2 separate regions of the Homo sapiens genome follow, and region 1 is linked to region 2. Evidence: promoter capture Hi-C in human tissues and cell types (Jung and others, 2019). All regions are on one chromosome and are shown on one strand. The core of a region is centred on a gene start or on the middle of the fragment in contact, and the rest is flanking DNA. Distances in the headings are between cores, read along the strand shown. Region 1 overlaps SREBF2 (sterol regulatory element binding transcription factor 2). Region 2 holds the start of NFAM1 (NFAT activating protein with ITAM motif 1).

Evidence for each region. The method cuts DNA at HindIII sites, captures the fragments that hold promoters and counts their contacts. A contact is called where the count stands out against the background at its distance.
Region 1: a contact is called between a fragment that was not itself captured here and the fragment with the promoter of NFAM1 in region 2, in 1 of the 25 tissues and cell types used here (bladder).

The regions. Positions count from the first base shown.
Region 1 is chr22:41,841,627-41,847,457 of GRCh38, reverse strand. All of the region lies in intron 1 of SREBF2 (sterol regulatory element binding transcription factor 2), which reads right to left. Among named protein-coding and RNA genes, the nearest start is that of SREBF2-AS1, 9.9 kb to the right of the region's middle. RefSeq lists an enhancer at 194-994. The HindIII fragment of the contact is 6,451 bases long and covers 1-4,762 here.
Region 2 is chr22:42,428,746-42,433,867 of GRCh38, reverse strand. It overlaps NFAM1 (NFAT activating protein with ITAM motif 1), which reads left to right and starts at 1,465. Exons shown (of 6, transcript NM_145912.8): 1 at 1,465-1,631. The coding sequence starts at 1,511. The HindIII fragment of the contact is 19,415 bases long and covers 1-5,122 here.

The sequences.
Region 1 (5,831 bases), core at 288-2,787, 590 kb after region 2:
TCCTGTATCTCCCAGCTCTTCACCTGCTGCTGCCCTGGCATCATACTGTTCCCTCTTTCACTCTCTTTTAGCAGGAGACTACAAAATTGAGTGAGATGCAGAGTGAGACTCCAAGGAACTGATCCTGCATGACCCTGTTCTGCAAAAGGAGGCCCTCACATTTCACATTTCAGGTGACCCACTGCCAACAAAATCAGGCACAAGCCACTTCACCTGAACTGTCCTCCTCCTGGGGGCAGAGTCTACAAAGCAAGAGATCTCAACCTTTTTCAGCCCTTAAACCATTCAGGCAAAAATGAAAGACCCCAACATCCCACCATCTTACCCTTCCATCCATTACCATGCCCCCAAATCTCCCTAAAACTAAAGAGAAAAAGAATACTTGCAAAGCAGGTTATCAAATCACGCTACAAATACAAACATCCACTCAAATTTGCATACACTATGTACTCTGGGCTGGGAGCTGGAGGATCCTATGTGCCTTGTGTGGAACTCCGCACAGGGCAAAGACTGAAAAGTATTCGTTTTCTTCCCATCTCCCATGCTCACAGAGAAGAAAGAGAAACCTAACCAACTCCATAAACTGCGACAAGGGCAAGAACAGACAAGTGCCTCACAAAGAAAGGGCTGTCAGAGAGCAGAGAAAGGACTGATCCATCCTGGCAGGCAGTGAAAACCGAGCTTAACGGATGAAAAGGGTTTATAAATTAGAGAGAGGGAAGGGTATTCCAGGCAAAGGAAATAGTTTGAGCAAAACCACAGTATCAGGAAATGTCCTGCCAGCTGCTGAAGTAGAGACAGCACGGTGCAAAATGGAGAGATGGAGCTGCCTGTGAAAGGCCTGACTTAATGCTACCATGTATATTTGGCGGCAGAAACTGCTTTTATTTCAGAGGCAAGGAAAGGCACAGAATACATGGTGGGCATTTGCCACTTTTGTTCCATTTGTCCATCATCAGACCCGACCCTCCCATTAGCACCCTGATCTTCCTTTGGAGAATCCCCATTGGGCAGTCCTCATGTGAGGGAAGGTTTCCTGCCAGTCAGCTCTGATTAATGCATCCTCCCACCAGGAGTGCGACCCTTGAGGGAATGACCCAGGAAAGCAGAGACAATATACAGATCATGAAGGCGGAGGAGTACTAAGCAGGAGCCTCCTTGGTTCTGGCCCATTTTCCAAATTGGCTCTCCAGCTTTTCTAGTCACTCCAAGAACCACCCTTCTAACAAATCCTTTTCTGTTCAAGCTAGATAGAAGCGGTTTCTGCTGCTTATCACCAAGAATCCTGACTGATAAAGAACACACTGAAGCAAGGAGGCACCTGACCAAAACCCTGTTTGTGGAAGATAACGAACAGCACAGTTATCAAGAGTGTGGTCTACACAAAACCCAGACACTCGAGCACCAGCACTGGTCAAGCCCTTCAAAATGGCTGTTCACTCAGCCTGGAACACAGCTGCTCTCTCCTTCCACCCCTTTAAGACCTCAGCTTATCCCTGAGAAGGCTCCTCTGATCCTGCCCCCTCCACTAGTTAGGTGTTCCTGTTGGACAACATCCCAGACCTTCCACATTCAGATCTTTGGGGGTATACCCTGGGAGTTCATAGACACATTCAAGTTTGAGAACCTCTGTCCTATGCAGTACTCTGACACACATATTCCTAGAGCATGCCAAATTATTCCCAACTTTGTCTAAATCTATCTAAATAAACACCATGCCTGCTCCTTTACCTTCTAAAATCCTATTTACTCACCCTTCACAATTCAGCCCAAATGCCAAAGTCCTTGTGAAGATTTTTCTAATTCCCTTCCTCAGTCCTCCAAAGATTTAGAGTTGTTCCTCTGTTATAGCCTCTGTTGTATTTTCCCATGTATTATGACTGGATGTTTACATGTTAGCTCCCTGAAAGCAGAGGCCATTTCATTCAACTCTAACAGCTTCTAGCACTGTGCTATGAATACAGTGGATACTCATTCACGTTGAAATGCAGCAAGGATTTTTTAAAAACAACTTTTGACCAGAGAAGGGGCTCCTAGACAGACAGGCTTCCTGAATCAAGGCATCTCCCACCTCATTTTCATAGGACAGCGAAGAATATGGAATCCCACATCAGAAAATCCAAGTTCATTCCCCGTCATCAGCATAGGAAGCATTGGCAAATCATCTAATTTCTCTGTCTCAGTGCCTTCATCTATGTCCATGGAAAATGGGCATAAAAATCAAGCCATGGGCAGGCGCAGTGGCTCACACCTGTAATCGCAGCACTTTGGGAGGCCAAGGCAGGTGGATCACGAGGTAAGGAGTTCAAGACCAGCATGGCCAACATGTTGAAACCTCATCTTTACTAAAAATACAAAAATTAGCCTGGCATAGTGGCACACACCTGTAATCCCAGCTACTCGGGATTACAGGAGACAGGAGAATTGCTTGAACCCAGGAGGCAGAGGTCGCAGTGAGCAGAGATCGTGCCACTGCACCCTAGCCTGGGCGACAGAGCAGGACTCTTGTGGGGGTGGGGGGTGGGGGTGGAAATCAAGCCTCAATTTTATAGCACTTATTAGGAAGACAAATGTATCAGGAGGACTTGGGTAAAGTGTAAGGCCTCACAGGAATGTTAGCACTTGGGAAGAAGCATGATTTCCTTTCACAGCTGTGGGATGGAGGGGGCTTAAGCTGGGCAGACACCAGGTTAGCAAAGCAGTTCCATATCTGGTTCAGCAGCTCGAAATTTCATCACTGTTCCAAACTAGATCCTGAACCCAACAGACCTGTTCCACAGGGCCACGTGGAGGAGCAAGCTTGTAAGGGACATTTAGATACATATCCATTAGCAATTCTCAAGGCCTGAGATATGCAGAAATTTTCTAGTTTGCAAGCCCTTCGATAGTTTAGGATTCATTTCTAAACAAAGTTCCCCAGGGAGCCTTACCTTAAGGCACAGGCTCTGGGATTCTGCTACTCTAAAAAATTCCATCATGTCAACAAAGTTTAACCCTTAATTTTGTGGTCACTTGCACCACACTCTGTGACTGCTCCTCTGTGTCCCACTACCACACCTACAAAAGCCATTTCAAAAGGAAAAAATAAACATTTCCAAACATATTCTAAAAACAGGTCCCCTAGTCCTACATCAATGTGCAAACTGAAGTTCATTCAGTTCCTCATTCATTTTTAAATAGAGCCAAAAGAGGTTAGGTCCTGTCCTCTTCCTTTTTTGTACCTTAGCTACATCATAGGTGCTGCAAGAACTAAGTGAGCTAAGGTACCCAACCCCCACCTTACAGAGGAAATTAAGGCTCAGAAAGTACCCTAGGACCCAGGGGAAGTCACTTTAAGTGTCCAGCATAGAGCAGACATTTTTTCTTAATTTAAAAAATATATATACATATACGTGTGTGTGTGTGTGTGTGTGTGTGTGTGTGTATGTATTTTTTTTTTTTTGAGACAGGGTCTCGCTCTGTTGACGAGGCTGAAGTGCAGTGGTGTGATCTTGACTCACTGTATCTTCAGCCTCTTAGGCTCAAGTGATCCTCCCACCTCAGCCTCCCAAGTAGTTGGGACTACAGGCTGGTGCCACCAAGCCTGGCTAATTTTTGTATTTTTTTTTTTTTTACAGAAATGGGGTCTCACTATGTTGTCCAGGTATGTTGCCCAGGCTAGTCTCAAACTCCTGGGCTCAAGGGATCCTCTCATCTTGGCCTCCCAAAGTGCTAGGATTACAGGTATGAGCTACTGCGCCTGGACAGACACTTCTTGATAAACACATGTTGAATAAATAGCTTCAAAGCACACCACACCACCTGGTATTTGCAACTTAGAAGCCTGCTTACATCAGACAGGGCATGGGACAGAGGAAAAATACATGGGTTCTAAAGTTGCACATGTTGGATTTAGGCCACTGTTCCATCACTTACAAGCTACGTGATCTATGCCTCAGTTTCTTCACCTGCAGCATACCACAGAATTGAAGAAAAGATTGCATGCAAAAACGTATTATGAGACGAATGTAGGTTAAGGCATGGAACGGTGCCTGGCACCCAAGGCCATACACATTCTGTGAGAACAAGGAACTTGTTTATTTGCCAGCACTGAACCTGGAGCCCAGTACAAAACAGGCCTACATAAAGTTTTGAACTGCATAGTGGGTGCTGCCTACACAGTGATTTCAAAACCTGGTGAACGATCAAAAAGTAGAGGTGACTACGGAAACAGTCAATAACTAATAAAGAACAGGATGAGTCACGTTCACTTAGAGAACATCAATGCATCTCAATGTATCTATCTGGGATCAAGATGAAATGGTCTTGTATTCATTATCAAATAAAGTCATGTGTCACTTGACAACAGGATTCATTCTGAGAAATGTGTCATTAGGCAACTGCTTCATTGTGCAAACATCACAGAGTATACTTACACACACCTAGATGGTATGGCAATAGCTCCATTATAATCTTTTTTTTTTTTTTGAGACGGACGTCTCGCTCTGGTGTCCCAGCTAGAATACAGTGGTGCGATTTCAGCTCACTGCAACCTCCACCTCCTGGATTCAAGCGATTCTCCTGCCTCAGCCTCCCACGTAGCTGGGATTACAGGCTCATGCCACCACGCCCGGCTAATTTTTTGTATTTTTTAGTCGAGACAGGGTTTCACCATGTTAGCCAGGATGGTCTTGATCTCCTGACCCCATGATTCACCCGGCTCGGCCTCCCCAAGTGCTGGGATTATAGGCATGAGCCACTGTGACCAGCCCCTCTTATGTTTTACCTAACTGGATTCTTGCGACAACTATGTCGGAGACAGCACCACCCTGGCTTTGATCCAACAATCCCACTTCTGGTAACCGCTCCTGCCTCTAGACTTGCACATGTGTGAAAGGAAGAATTTACAAAGCTATTCGCAGCATTGTTTTTAATAGCAGAAGACTGAAAATACCTTCAGATGTCCATCAAAAAAGGACTGGATGAATAAATTACAGGGCATCATCAAATGGAAAACCATGCAGCAGTGAAAAAGTCTGGGATGATCTATAAGATACATTGGTAAGCAGAAAGGAAAAGGCAAGGCACAGAAGAACAGGGCTTATAGCATGCTAACTTTTTCAGTCAAAAAGGAAAGCAAAGCAAAAACTAAAATCAATATTTGTTATTAGCTTCTTTTGTAATAACAAATACATTTTGAAGCAGGTAAAAGAAACTAAAAATTTAATTACTTGTGAGGGAGCGGTGGGACTACGCAGATAGTGGGTAGGGCCGGGAGCAAGACTTTTCATAGTACCTTTTTATGTATTTTATTTTGATTCATATGAATGTACTATCTTTTAAAAAAATAAAAATATTTCCAAGTTGTAATTCCCAATCACCATAGTAATTTGCAGCACTGGAAATGTTTTTAAAATGAAAGGGCTACAGCTGATAGTGTGTTACCCAGCTGAACTTGAAGACTCCTCTTTGGAAGATACACGCCCATGAACAAACTCCCAAGTGACTTGTTCACAAGTATTCAGAACAGTGCTTATGTTAAGAAAAAACTGCAAATGATGAAAATGTTCAACAGGTACACAGGTGTGCAAGGGTTTGCCTATTCAGATGGATCACATTAGATTATATGGCTATTACACCTCAACTACTTCAACATACAGCAATCCCTATGTGAAAACACTGTGATATGTACGCAGATAAGCAATGTTCAGACGAGAATCCAGAAGGATACGGACAATTTGATATTTGCAAAGTTCTAATTGAATAAAACTGCTTGAGAATTTCCTTTTTTTAATTACAAATTTGAGGAGTGAAATGATCTAGTTGAGAAAGAAGCAAAAATATATATTTTT
Region 2 (5,122 bases), core at 216-2,715:
TGCTTAGACAACCTGCTACTCCCAGGAGCCAGGAATAGCGTGAAGCAGCGGGTCTGCATCTCACTGTGACATATGTGAGCATGTATCACTGTGATGGATCAACAGTCAATAACACTGGGGTCCCCGCCTGCCCCCTGCGCGGTAGGAAACTTCTCCTGTTCATATGTCTTCCTCCCCTGGTGGGCGGCCCCTGCTCTTGCCAGCCTCCCAGTGCTCGTGGCATTGGTGGAAACGTCTTTAGGCTTTCACTGTTCATGTTTGGAGCAGCCCAGGGAAAAGCATGTGTGCAAAGAACTGAAATGGATCTCATGATGCCGTCACCGGGGGCTGCAGCTGGACACACCTGAGCAGGCAGTAGCAGGGTGGGAGAAGGCTCGGACATCATACCACTGGCAGTTCAAATGCCCGCCCCACAGACCTGCCCTGATCCTAGGCATGTTGTTTTGCCTCCTGGGGCCGAGGTCTTCTCTTTTGTACAACTGGGATCATCACATTTATCTGGTGAGTGAAGGGACACCTGCAGAGAAGGGAGGTAAGCGCTCAGCATGCGCTGAAACTCAGCCACCTTCCCGCCTGCGTCTTCCATGTACCAGGTGCCTCCAGCTCCACCAGCCATCACCACACCCCAGCCCCTTTCCTCTGCCACTCCAGACACGCAGGCAGATGTGTGGGTGCCAAGGGTGAGGGGCTCCCAGTCTGCTGGGGAAGGGGGTCCCGGCAGCAAACAATTCCTGTCCCCGGCTGATGCTGCTAGAAGTGAGAGCAGGGGCTGTGACCTGCAGCCAATGGGGAAGCAGTTCGAGGGTCTCACAGTTGGGAGGCCGAGTGAGCTAAGCTTTAGGGCAGCCACAGGGAGGAGCTGACGTTAGAGATGGACCAGAGAGGAGGCGTCTCCTGGGCCTCTGCAGGGGACCCACAGAGGTTCTCGCTGGGTGAATGATGGGCAGCCTGCCTTTCACCTGCCCTGGGTGTTTGGCCCTCTCTAGGGCTGGGAACATGAGGCTCCTGCCCTTCACCCCAGCCTCCCTACCACCCCTCACCAAAAAACCTACCTTTGGTAAACACATTATTAAGGGATTCTCAGAATATTTTAGAGAAGTTTGTGTGAACATGCTTGTGGTCGTTTTAAAAGTGTTTCAGAAGTGAGAGGCTAAACCAAGGCCCGAAGTCACTCATGGAAATCCCATGATCCCTCTGCACAGTTACCAGTGTCTCCTGGACGGGGCCCCTGCTGGAAAGGGGCCGAGACAGGGTGAAGCCCACCAGGGGTTGGAGTGGGGAGGCTTGGGTCCCGTCTCCAGCTCTTCTTCTGGTTGTGTGGCCTGGACCAGTCTCAGTGCCAGGTTCCTCATCTGGCGGCCACCCTGCTGGGCTGTTCCAGCTTTGCTTCTGAGCGGAAGGTCAGGGGCTGCCAGGGAGGAGCTTCGTGGGGAAAGCAAAGGGGAAGCTGTCAGCGCCGGCCGTCCCCTCCTGTGAACTAAAGAGTCGCCGCAGACAAGCAGGCCCCCAGATGGAGAACCAGCCTGTGAGGTGGCGGGCCCTGCCAGGCCTCCCACGCCCTCCTGGGCTCCCCGCAGCCCCCTGGCTCCTCCTTGGCGTGCTGCTGCTGCCCGGGACCCTGCGACTGGCAGGTAGTGTCTGTCTTCCTCCTTCTCTCTACTCTCTCGCTCCAGAACATCAGAGCGGCTTTCATCCCGCCCGGCGCAGCTAATTCCCAGGGACCTGTCTCTGGGGATTTGCTGGTTGTCGTTTGAACGCTGCAGACTTCACAGGGGAAGCCTTCTGGGACCGAGAAGATGTTTAGCTAATGCCTTGCCAAGGTGGCTTTTGAAGGGGAGGGGGACAGCGCTCTCTCCCTCGCTGCTGTGACAGCTTTGCCCCAGCAGTCTGGCCTCCTGGCCCTTAAACAAGGAGGGTGGGCGCTGTGTGGCTGGGGCCAGGGGCGGGGCAGGGGGGAGGGACAGCTCCCCATCCGAGGAACCTCACGTGGCTGCTGCGGGGGACACTGCGTTGAACCTGGCAAGTGGTGGGGCTACCCTCTGGGTTGTTGCTGGCATTGGCCAGGGAGAGCGGGGAGAGGGGGGAGGGGGGGATACCAGGGCCAGCCACAGGGCTCTGCGCCCAGAGGCACAAAACTGTCAGTCACCAGAAAGGGTCTCACCTCCCAGTTCCTGAAACACAACCAGAGGCCAAGTGTTTTAGGATGCAAGTGTGTCTTTCCACGCCAGCGGCGCTCCTTTCCTGGTTCCAGGCTTTCTTGGAAGCTGGGTGGCCGGGATCCGAGCCAAGCTGTGGGGTAGGTAGCCTCAGGGCCAGTTCATCAGGCCAGGGACGGCCCAGGAGGGTCCCATTCCAGGGCTGCCAGCACGAGGGCTCAGTGAATTCTGCCAGATTCTCTCTGCCCCTCCTTGGCCGGGCAGCAGCCAACCCTCCCTCTGGCCAAAGGGGTGGCCTCCACTGTGGAGACAGGGTGCCTTCCTTTCTATTCTCTTAGTTTATGGGGCTTTCAAGAGCTGCCCCCACCCTGTCCTGCTGCACCCCCTCTCATGACCACAAATTAGGCTTTATGGAGCCCTTAGCAGGGCACGTACTGGCCACCCTCACAGCACCCCTTGGGGCTCCTATTGTCCTCACCTGCACCATTTTAAGGACAGGGAAAAGGAGGCCCAGGGAAGCCAGTTCGTTTGCTCAAGACCTAGCCGGTAAGTAGAGGCCAGCCTCAGCCCCAGGCCAGCCTCAGCCCCAAGCTGGGCCCCTCGGCCAGTAGGCTCAGAGGATCCTCTTACTTGTAAAGAATGTTCTTCACCGGAAACTTACCCTGGGGAGGCAAAGGCTGACCTGTGTGTACCTCCCCAGGCTGCAGCCCAGAGCCCTAGGACACCATCTCCTTTAATCCTGTGCACGCCTCGCCCCACACCCCAGACAGTTGGTGCAAACACGGCCAGACCCCGGAAATGCAGCCTGTTAGTGTCAATGTGTCTCAACTACAGTCATTTTTAATTTAATTTCCCCCCAATTCCCATCCTTTCCCTTTGTGTGGTTCCTCCTCCCCAAAAGACACCCAGCACACCCTGGTAACCGAGCAGTAAGAGGTTTTATGGGGTGCTACTGGGGAAAAGCTCTTTTGTAACAGTCTCAACTATAACAAAACATTCCCAGTGCCACCCCCTCCCACCCGGTATTGCAACAAACATTACATAAAAGAGAAACTGTTCTTTCACAAGAGGTGAAAACACCCTTACGGTGTCCTAGAGTCCCTTGGAGCAGCAGACAAACCCCCACCCATGATTTTTTTTTTTTTTTTTTTTTTTGAGAGTTTCACTCTTGTCACTCAGGCTGAAGTGCAATGGCGCCATCTTGGTTCACGGCAACCTCTGCCTCCTGGGTTCAAGTGATTCTCCTGCCTCAGCCTCACGAGTAGCTGGCACTACAGGTGCCCACCACCATGCCCAGCTAATTTTTGTATTTTTAGTAGAGACAGAGTTTTGCCATGTTGGCCAGGCTGGTCTTGAACTCCTGACCGCAGGTGATCTGCCCGCCTCAGCCTCCCAAAGTGCTGGGATTACAGGCGTGAGCCACTGTGCCCGTCCTGTTTTTATTTTTTTGAGACAGGGTCTCGCTCCGTCCACCAGGCTGGAGTGCAGTGGTGCAATCTCAGCTCACTACAACCTCTGCCTCCCTCACTCAAATGATCCTCCCACCTCAGCCTCCCGAATAACTGGAACCACAGCGTGTGCCACCACACCCAGCTATTTTTTAAATTTTTTCGTAGAGATAGAGACTCACAGTGTTGCCCAGGCTGGTCTCGAACTCCTGACCTCAGGTGATCCACCCGCCTTGGCCTCCCAAAGTGCTGGGATTACAGGCGTGAGCCACTGTGCCCAACCCCCAACCCGCTCTTTGTCCTACCCCTGTGCATCCCCCTTCATCTATCTGTCACTCCATGTCACACCCCTGCCTTCTCGTCTCAGAGCTTTGAGGGTTTGCTGGAAGGAATCTTGCCCCTCCCACATCTTCCAAACCTCCCCTGACCGTAACCATCAGCCTTAACCATCAGCCTGGTGCAACCAGCTCTGCCACCTGTCAGTACCAACCCAGCTTGCATCCCTCAGCTGTGTCCACAGGGGTGTCACTGAAGGCCAGCGTCCCTGATTCTGCATCGTATCCCTGAACTTGCGAGAGGATGCTGGCTTAGGAGTACAGGCCAGGGGCATTCATCTTCAGTTTGATTTTTTATTTATTTATTTATTTTGAGACGGAGTCTCGCTCTGTTGCCCAGGCTGGAGTGCAGTGGCACCATCTCGGCTTACTGCAACCTCCGCCTCCCAGGTTCAAGCGATTCTCCTGCCTCAGCCTCCTGAGTAGCTGGGATTGCAGGCACCCACCACCATGCCTGGCTAATTTCTGTATTTTTAGTAGAGTCAGGTTTTCACCGTGTTGGCCAGGCTGGTCTCGAACTCCTGACCTCAGGTGATCCCCCCACCTTGGCCTCCCAAAGTGCTGGGATTACAGGCGTGAGCCACCGCACCCGGCCCAGTTTGAATTTGAGCTCTGCTACTTGCCCAGGCACCCTGGGCAGATTACTTCTATCGCTATGCCTCAATTGTCTCCTCTGTTAAATGGATGTGATAACACTGCCTGCCTAAACACATCCTGAGGACTGAGTGCCCAGTATGTCATTAGTCCTCAGTGAGTGTCAGCCACCTGCCAGCCTCGCCAGAGCCATGGAAACTTGAGGTGCAGTTGGTGAGCCCACGGCCTCCAGCTCATCCTGGGTACCTGCTCCTGCTCCCAGCCATCCTCCTCCTCCCACTTGAGCCGGGACTTGGGCCTGTCCTCTGGCTTCTTGACCCCTCTGCAAAGCCTGCTTTTCTCAAAGGCAGCCACTGGTGGTCTCCCCAAGACAGGAATTGCTGGGGGCTTGGCTTTTCCAGGAGCAGCTGCAACTCAGCTTCCATGGGCCTCAGTCCTCCCCAAGGACTTTGGGGCTGGACAGACCTGAGTTCCAGGCCTGCCTTCTTCTGGTGACAGCTGTGTGACCTCAGGCAATTACTTAACCTCTCTGCACCTTAGTGTCCTCTGCAAATGTCAGTCCCCTCTCTGTGGCCTTTCCAGAACTCTG